2 separate regions of the Homo sapiens genome follow, and region 2 is linked to region 1. The links are contacts of gene promoters, found by promoter capture Hi-C in blood cells and fetal thymus (Javierre and others, 2016). All regions are on one chromosome and are shown on one strand. The core of a region is centred on a gene start or on the middle of the fragment in contact, and the rest is flanking DNA. Distances in the headings are between cores, read along the strand shown. Region 1 holds the start of MAGI3 (membrane associated guanylate kinase, WW and PDZ domain containing 3). Region 2 holds the start of SIKE1 (suppressor of IKBKE 1).

Region 1 (5,036 bases), core at 1,639-4,138:
ACAAAGTGTCTCTTCAAAAAACAAGTGTAGTATTCAGAACTTTATTACTAATGACTACAAAATGTTCTGTGGCCATTAATACGTTATTCCCTTTATTTTGGCTAAATCTTTAAAATAGAACAGTGTCTGTGGCTGTCAAGAGGGCAAAACTGTATTACTCTAATAATGTCAACTACATACGGGGGCATAGGATGTTTATTCAACACAGTTAATATTACTAATGCTCTAAATCTTGAATTATTGTTAAATATAATATAGAGGTTGAGAAAAATGTATAACAGGTAGATTAGACTAATGTTATGAAATAGCCATCTCTTCAGTCTTCTAAAAAAGATCACAATAATTTAGAATACACCAGCTTCCATGTCAATATATCAACTTTAAAATTTCTAAAAATAAGTTATATTCTCATCTATGCCCTAACGAATCAAAACAAAACACAAAGAAATGATGCAGATGTTCTCACTATTCACTAACTCATGGGATTTGAACTAAGATTTGGCAGCTAGACTAGTAAATGCTGTCTATATAGCCTTTTGCATATTACAGACAGTGCCTGACTAGCTGAATTACAGCCCCAAAAGTCTTTCCTCTGCCTTTCACACATGGCTGTAAAAGTTAGAGTTAAGAAAAAAATTTACAAATTCTCAAAACTATACAGAAAAAGCTGTTTAAAGTCTGCCAAAGTTTTAAAAAATTAACAACAATAAAAAGAAAACCTCACCACATAAACCCATACACTTAAAATGAATACGATGGAATACGCTATAGAAAGAAAATCTTAATTATGACCTTAGGAGCATGTGAGTCTGTGTGTATACATATCCACAATACACAGACATATGTAAACTGCACCACAAACCATCAAGCCCCATTAAGCTCAAGGACTATTAAAGATATATTAATATTTCCAAAGCGAGCTGCTGAGAAAGAAATGAGAAGGAGATAACATATTAAATTTTTATCCAGAATTTTCTAGCATTTTGCCATCAAGGGATGGACTGCTACCTAGCCCAGGTAACAATTAACCAGCCCATTATATTTTGATGCACCGTATACTCAGCAGAGCACATTAAGGAAAAACAGTTTGGTTTCTAATAATGTTACAATCACAATTCTCTCTCCCACAAACATCTAAGACGACAGAACCACATTCTATCTATGCTGAAACAAAACCAACAATGCTGTCTATAACAAATTCATAAGAACTACTACATACTATCAGATCTCACTGTATGCTGTCTCTGATCAATGCTTTGAAACTGACGAGTATGCCATAAACATAACGTGCTTTGCAGCAATTTTTACTAGCATAAAAGATACCAGGGCAACAGAGGCTCCTTTAACCTACCACTTCAACAAAATTCTGTAAAATCAAAAGCGTTACAGAAGCTTTCACTCCGCTAGGCACCTAGGTCTTCCTGCAAAACCCAGACTCTATTCAACAGCTCCCTGCAAGAACACACCAGTCTGCCACATATCACATATTGTACCGTCATCGGTACTCAGACACCTGAACCACCTGGACTGACAGAGTTAGGCTGTCAGCTCTGAGATGTCTGCTAGAGTGCAAGAAACACTGAAGCAGCTAAGCCCTTCCAGGTACACCAGGTGGTAACCTTGGCACCAAGTGCCTCTATAGTAAAGTCCCTTTTTCCCTGTTAGAAGATGCGTAAGATCGTTCCAAAGAAAATGTTACAATCCTAAGGGCCTTTTTGCACAACACAGGAAAAGGCTGGCCTTCTCTAGTCAAAAACTCTTGTCTGCGGGGGGAGATGGAGCTACAAATGTAGGAAACCCAGCTTCTAGTCGCAATTCTGTGACAGCTAGCACAGCTAGCAGAGCAACCGCGCCAAGCCAGAGCTCAGTTTTCCCTTCGGCAAAATGGGACTCACCAACGCCACCCCTCCCCCTCGTCAAGGAGTCTGGCACACCCTAGAGGTCTAAGATTACCCGGGACAATACGCGGTGGGGAGGTGCCGCCGCTCCCAGGACGCCCACCCTGAAGCCCCTCTCCCCAACACCCCGAGACAGATACGCAGGGCCGGCGTACCTGGTTTCACAGTCTTGAGACGGATGGGCTCGCGGAAGTGGCGGATGACAGCCAGGGTGTCCCGGTTGGTGAGCCCGCTGACAGGCGTCCCGTTTACCTCCAGCAGCACATCGCCTGGGCTGGGCGCCTTGCCCGAGACGACGCAGCAGGTGCCCCCGCCGGGCTCCTCGCGGAGCCGCCCCAGGTAGGGGAACTCGCCACGCTCCGCGCCACCGCGGATCTCCGCGCCGAAGTCGCCCGGGGGCCCGGCCCAGGACACGGCGCACTCCTGCACCTTGCTGAGCCAGTGCTTCTTCTTCTTCAGCGTCTTCGACATCCCGAACCCCGCTGCACCATGGGGGAGACCCCGCGCGGGCGGCCGGGGCGCCGCTCCGGCCCCGTCTCAGCCCGGGGGCCCTGGGCGGCCCGCGCAGCCCGGTAAGGGGGGCCTCGCCGCTCCGGCCCCCACCCCGCGACCACAGCCCGCTGGGGGCCCGGCCGTTCCCAGACGCGAGACGCCCCTTGGACGCCCCTCCCGGCTGCGCTCCCCGGGGCTGACCGGACTCCGCGAGGGCCACCGCGGGTTAGGCTGAAGAAAGGAAAAGGGAATTGTCCCCAGGAGGTTCCAGAAGGGGCTTCGGGCGGGGTCACTGCCGCCGGCTGGTCCCTGGGCTCAGCGCCCGAGCGGCGGGAAAGGCTGAGGCGGGGGGGCGGGGAGGTGAAGGGGGAAGAGCCGGGAACGGGAAAAATCCGTGGGGGGCGCGCAGAAGCGCGCGTAGACCCGTCGCGGGATCGATCGTGGCCGCTGCGGAGCTGTAGCGCGGAGACCAACGCCTGCCCAAGCTGCCAGGAAACTGCCGCTTTCAAACCAGCCGCAACCTCCTCCTCCTCCCTTTTCCCTTCCCCCGGCCCTCGCCCATCCCTCATCCAGAGCCCCGCCCCCTCCCGCCGCGCGGCGCCCGGCGCGCTGCCGTCACAGGCTGGGCGCTTGGGAACGAGCCCCGGCCCTGGACTCTCGCGCCAGGGATTGGCCCCCGGCGGGCAGGAGGCGGACCGCCAACGAGAATGGGGACCACTGGTTGGTCGGTGCGAGTGGAGGAGGCGGGCACTAGAATGACTGAAGTTTAGAGAGGGTGGAAAAAAGAAGTTTGGAGAGTGAGGGAGGGCGCAGAGGAGGGGCAGGGGAGTGGAAGGGGCTGTAGGTCGCAGGGCCGGGAGAGGCCCTCTGCGCGGCGGCTGGAGCCGAGGAAAACTCGAATCCGAGAGGGACCGAGCTCCCCGAAGTGGGGGCGTGGCCGGCGAGTTAGGCGGAGACGCGGGCGGAGCCTCTGAGCCTGTGCGGGGCGCAGAGAGGGGCCGGTGTGCTTAGATTGGAAGACAACGTGCGGAGTCCTGAGCCGGCCGAGGTTCCGGGGCCTTTAGGGTGGCCTGTTACAGCCGATAGTTTGCATTGAGTGGATATTGCTTGTTCATTCGTTCATTCAACAGATGTTACTGAACGCCCATTGAGGCAGGGCTTCGGAGTCCGGTTGATGAAAGATATTATAAAATAGAGTCCGGCACTGCTGTATGACCTAAGACAAATTAGACAACCTCTCTGAGCCGCAGCGTCCTCAGTGAAAAGTGAAGATTACAGAAGATGTACAAAATAACTGCATAGTGCCTGACAGTGGGTGGTTGCCTCTTAAAGTTTGGTAGCTGCTGCTGCTGCTGCTGATGACGATGACGATTTTGTGTTAGATATTGTGCTAGGTACTGGGATTCAAGGGTGAAGAAAACAGAAGCCCCGCTATTGAGGAGGTTACAGTCTAGTGGGAGAGACTGAGAAGTAAGCAGACTGCCTGAGGTGAGGGAGTGGGGTGGAGGTAGAAGGTGGATTATTAAGAACTAACCTGGTAGCCAGCAGATCTGGTTGGAGTCCTGACATGCTACTTACTTGCTGTTTGACCTTGGCCAAATCTCAGTTAAAGGAGGTGAAGGGAGAACGAACATTAAATAAAAGATATCGTAGATCCCTTCCAGCTCTAATTTTTCAGAAATTTCACTTGAGCTTTCTCTCTTCCCCGGCTTGACTTACACTCTTCCCTGTCTTTGGAATGCCCTTCATCTCATCTCTTTTAAAACTCCTATCCGTCCTCATCCCAAATGCCGGCTCTTCCAGGTAGCTTTCTCTGATTTCTTGCCCTCAAGTGGAAAGTGTTTTCTCTGAGCTATGATCTTTGTTTCACTTTTGCAGCATGACATTTATTTGTGTAGTCTCCTGTCTCCCTTTAATAGTAGGTGAAAGCCCTTATAAAACTCCACACCTCAGATAGACTGGACCAAGCTTCAATAGCTGCAGTGATTTCGTTGACACCATTGTATCAGTCAGGGTCCTGGCAGGAAACAAATGGCATTTTGCAAAGATGTGGGCAGGGTGTGGGAAACCACAAGAGAAGCTGGAACCCTGAGGCTACAGCTCCTAGATCTGTCCAATCGGGAAAGAACAGTTACCGAAAAATCCAGACACACAGGGCCACCTGACAGGAGTCTGTGACCTTCAGTCAACGGATGCAGTCAGCCTAAGTAAACACCCAGCAAAGGACCTGGGGGATTTATATCTAACTCACCACCCTCCTCCAGTCTCCTGCTGGTGCTTGTCAATGGCCAAGTCCAACCAGACGCCAGAGGGCAAGGGAGGCTTTTGATATAGTTCATATCAGTCAGTTTCAGAAAAGGAAACAGTGCATCTGAGGGGAAAATATTCAGCACAGACACCATGTGGATGGCTCAGATTTAACCATATCTGAGACAAAGCTTGGAGTATTTTTTTTCTAAACTACTACCTATACTAATGGATTCCTGGATAAAATCTCCATAACCTACACATCATCTGTTTTTGCAGGAACTCTGGGAAAACATCTTTCTGTGTCTAGATTGCATCTGTTAGAATGCCTTTGGCCTCAAGGAACAGAATATTTGGCAGTAGCTTAAAGCATGAGGTCATTTACTATATCTTCAATAT
Region 2 (5,036 bases), core at 1,634-4,133, 1.4 Mb before region 1:
CAGATTCATATCTCAGAAGTTCAGCTTTTGTTGTGTCTGGCTGTTTTCAGTTTTTTCCTCCCTTTGAAAAGGACACTCTCCTTCAACTTTTTCCATCAGCTCCTCTAATTCTTTTTCCTCTGATTCTAACTGTTGGGGCCTGATGCTGAAATGTTTTATCTTAGAAGTCTATAAAAGCAGTGTTTTCCTCCAATATAACTTGATTCTGTACTCCCGGCTTTTCTTGATATGTGATTTTCGTTGTAATCAGGAAACTTCTCACGCAATTGCTCAGAGAGATGTATTCCCTTGCTATACTCATAAGCATGAATACACTCTTCTTGTGTCTGATTAAATTCAAGCACTTTTTTCAAGTATGACTTTCAGGTTACCTACATGGTCTTCCCATAAGGAGAAGCAGTCACACAGCAGAAGGGGTTTTTTGCCTGTGTAGTAACTTGCTTAAGAAACAAGATTTTAATGTTTTATCAAATAATTCCCATGCTCTCTTTAATGGGTTTTTAATTGCCTAGAAAAACTGAGATTTAAAAGGGTTCAGGTTTTTATGTCCTGGTAACCTTCTCAATTGCCTTTAAAGTCTTTAATTATCAGTTTGGTTAAATGAGTAACTATTATTTTTACAATGAATATTATCTTGTTTTGATCAAATGTTTTGAGGCTTTTAAAATCTTTGACCAATGTCCTCAAAATCAAAATCGTAAATTAAGTCTCTGACTTATTGCTGGGGTTTATCGAAGCTATAAAAATTAATCACTGCAAGGTTGTAAAATATTTTTACAGCTTCCAGTCAGGTCATAGACTCCGGTATCACACCTCCAGCTCCTTGAAAAGGTCCTTATCAGGTGATATTAACTAATCCTTGTGCTTTTAAGTTATAGGGACTTACACATATCTCATCCAAAGAAGGCATCAACTCCTGCCAGTATCTGACACTAAACTGCAATTAACCAAAGCCTCATCGTTAGACTCAGGCAAAGGCGACAAAGTAAACTGCTTTCATGAGACACAGGGACAGTCTTGTGTTCAAAAATATTAAGATTCATTTAACAATTCTGCCTCTATCTGAATTAATATAATTTATTCTGTGCCTTGATACTAAATAATTTAAGTGTTTAGCTACCTATGAACTTCTTTTCCTGTTATTCTCAAAACTAGGCAGGGTTTATGACCTTTGTGTTTGAAATGTTGTTAATTCTTTCTGTTTTGTTTTACCTACAAAAGTTGAAACTCTTCAATCCCGCCATGCCTAGAGACTATAACGTAATGTTGTAAGGGCCAGTATTGAGAGCTAAAATTAGTTCAGACCCTACAAATCAAGGATGACACAGATGCCAAAACAGCTAAACAAAATGCTTGCATTTTGTATAGCTAATTGCAACAAGCCAAGATTACAGCAGCTCAATGCATAGAATTTATAGATAAGTCAATTTTGTAACCCTTGCCTTTTGGTTTTTGCCTCTTAACATTGCTTAAGAGGGGTTTTAAGGTTAATGAGTGCCTGCCCACCTCCTTCCCATCTGACCTAGAACGTTTAATTGGCTGTAACTCTTTTGACTCTAAGTCAGTTGGCCGCAGGAGGGACATGATGGACTCAGGGCAGGTAGCACACCACCCTGGCATTGATATGGGACAAAATTAAAGTTTGGACACTGATACTGTCTCTGGGATACCTTGACCAAAAAAAAAAAAAAAGTGGAATGCTGTTTTGAAGGCATGAGCCTAGCCATTCCCCATCTGCGAGCATTTGATTAGTAAAGCTTTCACCACAGGTCACTTCTCATGTTTTTGGCCTCTAGGCAGCAAGCAGCCAGACGTGAGCCAGTTGCAATAGCAGCATTATTGACAATAGCAAAAGGTGGAAGCAACCCAACTGTCCATCCACGGATGAATGGATAAACAAAACGTGGTATATATATATTATTCAGCCTTAAAAAGGAAGGAAATTCTAACATATGCTACTATATGGATGAAACTCGTGGACATTACACTAAGTGAAATAAGGCAGTTATATAAATACAAATGCTGTATGATTTCACTCATGTCAGGTACCCAGAATAGTCAGATTTGTAGAGACACAAAGTAGAATGGTGGCTGCCAGGAGCTGGGGATAAGGAAGAATGAGGAATTATTGTTTAATGAGTACAGAACTTCAGTACTGCAAGATGAAAGAGTTCTAGAGATGGATGCTGATGGTGGCTGTATAACAATATGAATGTACAACTGAACTGTACACTTATAAATGGCTGAGATATTAAATTTTATGTGTATTTTGCCACAATTTAAAAAAAATTAAATGAAAGTAGGCCAGGCGCGGGGGCTCACACCTGTAATCCCAGCACTTTGGGAGGCCGAGGCGGGCGGATCACTTGAGGTCAGGAGTTCGAAACCGGCCTGGCCAACATGTGAAACCCCGTTTCTACTAAAAATAGAAAAATCAGCCGGCGTGGTGGCGCATGCCTGTAATCCCAGCTACTCGAGAGGCTGAGGCAGGAGAATCGCTTGAACCCTGGAGGCAGAGGTTGCAATGAGCCAAGATCGCGCCACTGCACTCCAGCCTGGACAAGAGCAAGATTCCGTCTCAAAAAAGAAAAAAATAATGAAAATAAAAAGAAACTAACTGTGACTGAAGAACAACCCACATCAATGAAAACCAGTAGGGAAAGGAGACCTTCCCACTGCCCAGCTAATCATAGCCTGACCACCAGGCTGTGGTAACTGGAAACCAACGGCGTGGCAAGTGTAGGTCTGGGGCTCCGCGCAAGGAAGGACTGCAAGGAAGCCGCAGGTTAAAGCGGGTCAACCCGCAAAATAGGCTGCCACTGCGCAGGCGCCCATTGCGCCTACCAAGACACCTTGTAAACGTGCCCGGAAATGACGCCTGTAATGCTGAGACAGACTCCCAGAAGATCTGAGCGAGTCGCGTAGCTGAGCCCGGCAGGGGCTGGGGTGGTGCTGCTGCTATGAGCTGCACCATCGAGAAGATCCTGACAGACGCCAAGACGCTGCTGGAGAGGCTACGGGAGCACGATGCGGCCGCCGAGTCGCTGGTGGATCAGTCGGCGGCGCTGCACCGGCGGGTAGCAGCTATGCGGGAGGCGGGGACAGCGCTTCCGGACCAGGTCAGGCAGAGGGTAGGAGTCCAGTGCTCTCGGATTCTGGGCACTGAAGGGTGGAGAGCGAGGTAAAGTGGGAACTCGGCCTGGAATTTATTCCCGGTCTCAGAGGGCGGCGGTGAGACCATTTTCCTGGGTCGGGGCTGAGAATCCTGCCCTGGAGCCCTAACTTCTGCCTCTTCAGTTGCATCTGCCGCTGTTCTCTTTAAGGCATGCTTAGTCTGTCTCTATTTGTCCAGTATCAAGAGGATGCATCCGATATGAAGGACATGTCCAAATACAAACCTCACATTCTGCTGTCCCAAGAGAACACACAGATTAGAGACTTGCAACAGGAAAACAGAGGTTAGTCAGGCCTTTTCATATCTGGTAATAGTTTAAAGTTATTGCAAAATTGCCCTAAACATTTACAAAAGTGTACATATATTTCCAGGTCAGTACTTTTAGTAGGAGAGTCCTCCTGATCTGGCCCAGTAACAATAAAGTTTGTTAGATTACCCTTTTCAAGGTCATCTGACTAATATTGCAGCAGCTTACCAAAGAGGTGCTGTGTAGAGTTGGTATTATTGCATGGTTTATTTTTAAGCATCCTCAGATGTGTAACAAAAGAGTTCATAGCCTCATGGACTTAAAATTTAATGTTTAAGTATTAATATAAACACTGAAGGTAAGATTTAAGGTTTTGTTTATGTTCTTGTTTGTGCAAGGTGAAGCAGCAGAATTTTATTCTAAGGGTATATATTCTTAGGCTTGATTAGTACATTATTAATGATTGTGGTATTAATAGTTGTTTACCAGAGGGGTTTCACATATATCATTCTACTGTATTCTCATATCTTCATTTTTATCTACCACAATGCAGTTAAGAAATAGGCTCAGAAGAAGCTAAATGATTTACTTATGAGTATTAACCAAGCAAGTTACAGAACTGAACTCAAACACATGTCTTCTGATGATACATCCATTGTTGTTTCTGCAAGACTTTGCTTCTCTGCCTAGAAAGTTACCTTTCACATAGACTTTAACTGTTCAGTTTTGCGGACTTAAACATTGATTTACAACTTTAGATTCATATTATCTATATAGTGTTACAAAATTCCAACTGTTAAGACTTTGGATTTGGGAACTGTCTCTCAGACATCACTGCCAAGTTCTTTTATTTTTTGACAGAGCTATGGATTTCCTTGGAGGAACACCAGGATGCTTTGGAACTTATCATGAGCAAATATCGGAAACAGATGTTACAGTTAATGGTTGCTAAAAAAGCGGTGGATGCTGAACCAGTCCTGAAAGCTCACCAGTCTCACTCTGCAGTAAGAAACTTTGAATAAATTCGAAATGAACCAAATTGAAATCTTGAGATTGTTTTAGATTGTGTGCTTGTTTTTTTGCTTTGTGAGATAGGGTCTGGCTCTTGTCGACCAGGCCGTGGTGTAATGGCACGATCTCGGCTCACTGCAACCTCTGCCTCCTGGGCTCAAGCCATCGTCTCACCTCTGCCTCCGGAGCAGCTGGGACTACAGGTGCACACCACCACGCCCTGTTAATTTTTGTGGGGTTGTTTGTTTGTTTGTTTGTTTGTTTGTTTTTTGGTAGAGATGACATTTCGCCATGTTGCCCAGGCTGGTCTGAAACTCCTGGGCTCAAGCGATCCACCCACGTTAGCCTTCCAAAGTGCTGGGATTATAGGCATGAACCACTGCGCCTGGCCATGTGTGCTTGTTTTTGAAGAAAAGTAAGCTCATTTTCCTTTCATGTTTATCACATTTGTTGTTTATTTTGCCATGGCTTTGTAAAGATATGAATAGAAAGAAGGAGGATAGGGGCTGCTCAGATCCTTTTATTTGAGTGGGACTAAGGTTCCCCCTCCCTCACCAAGATCTCTTTTGAAAATGTTCATTAATTCTTAGCGCTCCCACCAAA

The links. The method cuts DNA at HindIII sites, captures the fragments that hold promoters and counts their contacts. A CHiCAGO score of 5 or more calls a contact.
Region 2: the fragment with the promoter of SIKE1 here is called in contact with the fragment with the promoter of MAGI3 in region 1 in 1 of 17 cell types (total B cells); the score reaches 5.5 in total B cells.

The regions. Positions count from the first base shown.
Region 1 is chr1:113,388,367-113,393,402 of GRCh38, reverse strand. MAGI3 (membrane associated guanylate kinase, WW and PDZ domain containing 3) reads right to left here and starts at 2,888. Exons shown (of 21, transcript NM_001142782.2): 1 at 2,054-2,888. The coding sequence starts at 2,369. RefSeq lists enhancers at 1,843-1,892, 1,943-2,442 and silencers at 2,123-2,282, 2,343-2,472, 2,883-3,242, 3,273-3,322, 4,312-4,556. The HindIII fragment of the contact is 2,966 bases long and covers 1,395-4,360 here.
Region 2 is chr1:114,778,532-114,783,567 of GRCh38, reverse strand. It overlaps SIKE1 (suppressor of IKBKE 1), which reads left to right and starts at 2,883. Exons shown (of 5, transcript NM_025073.3): 1 at 2,883-3,119; 2 at 3,353-3,458; 3 at 4,284-4,426. The coding sequence starts at 2,961. RefSeq lists enhancers at 2,501-2,620, 2,861-3,100, 2,565-3,130, 3,131-3,697. The HindIII fragment of the contact is 3,666 bases long and covers 1,760-5,036 here.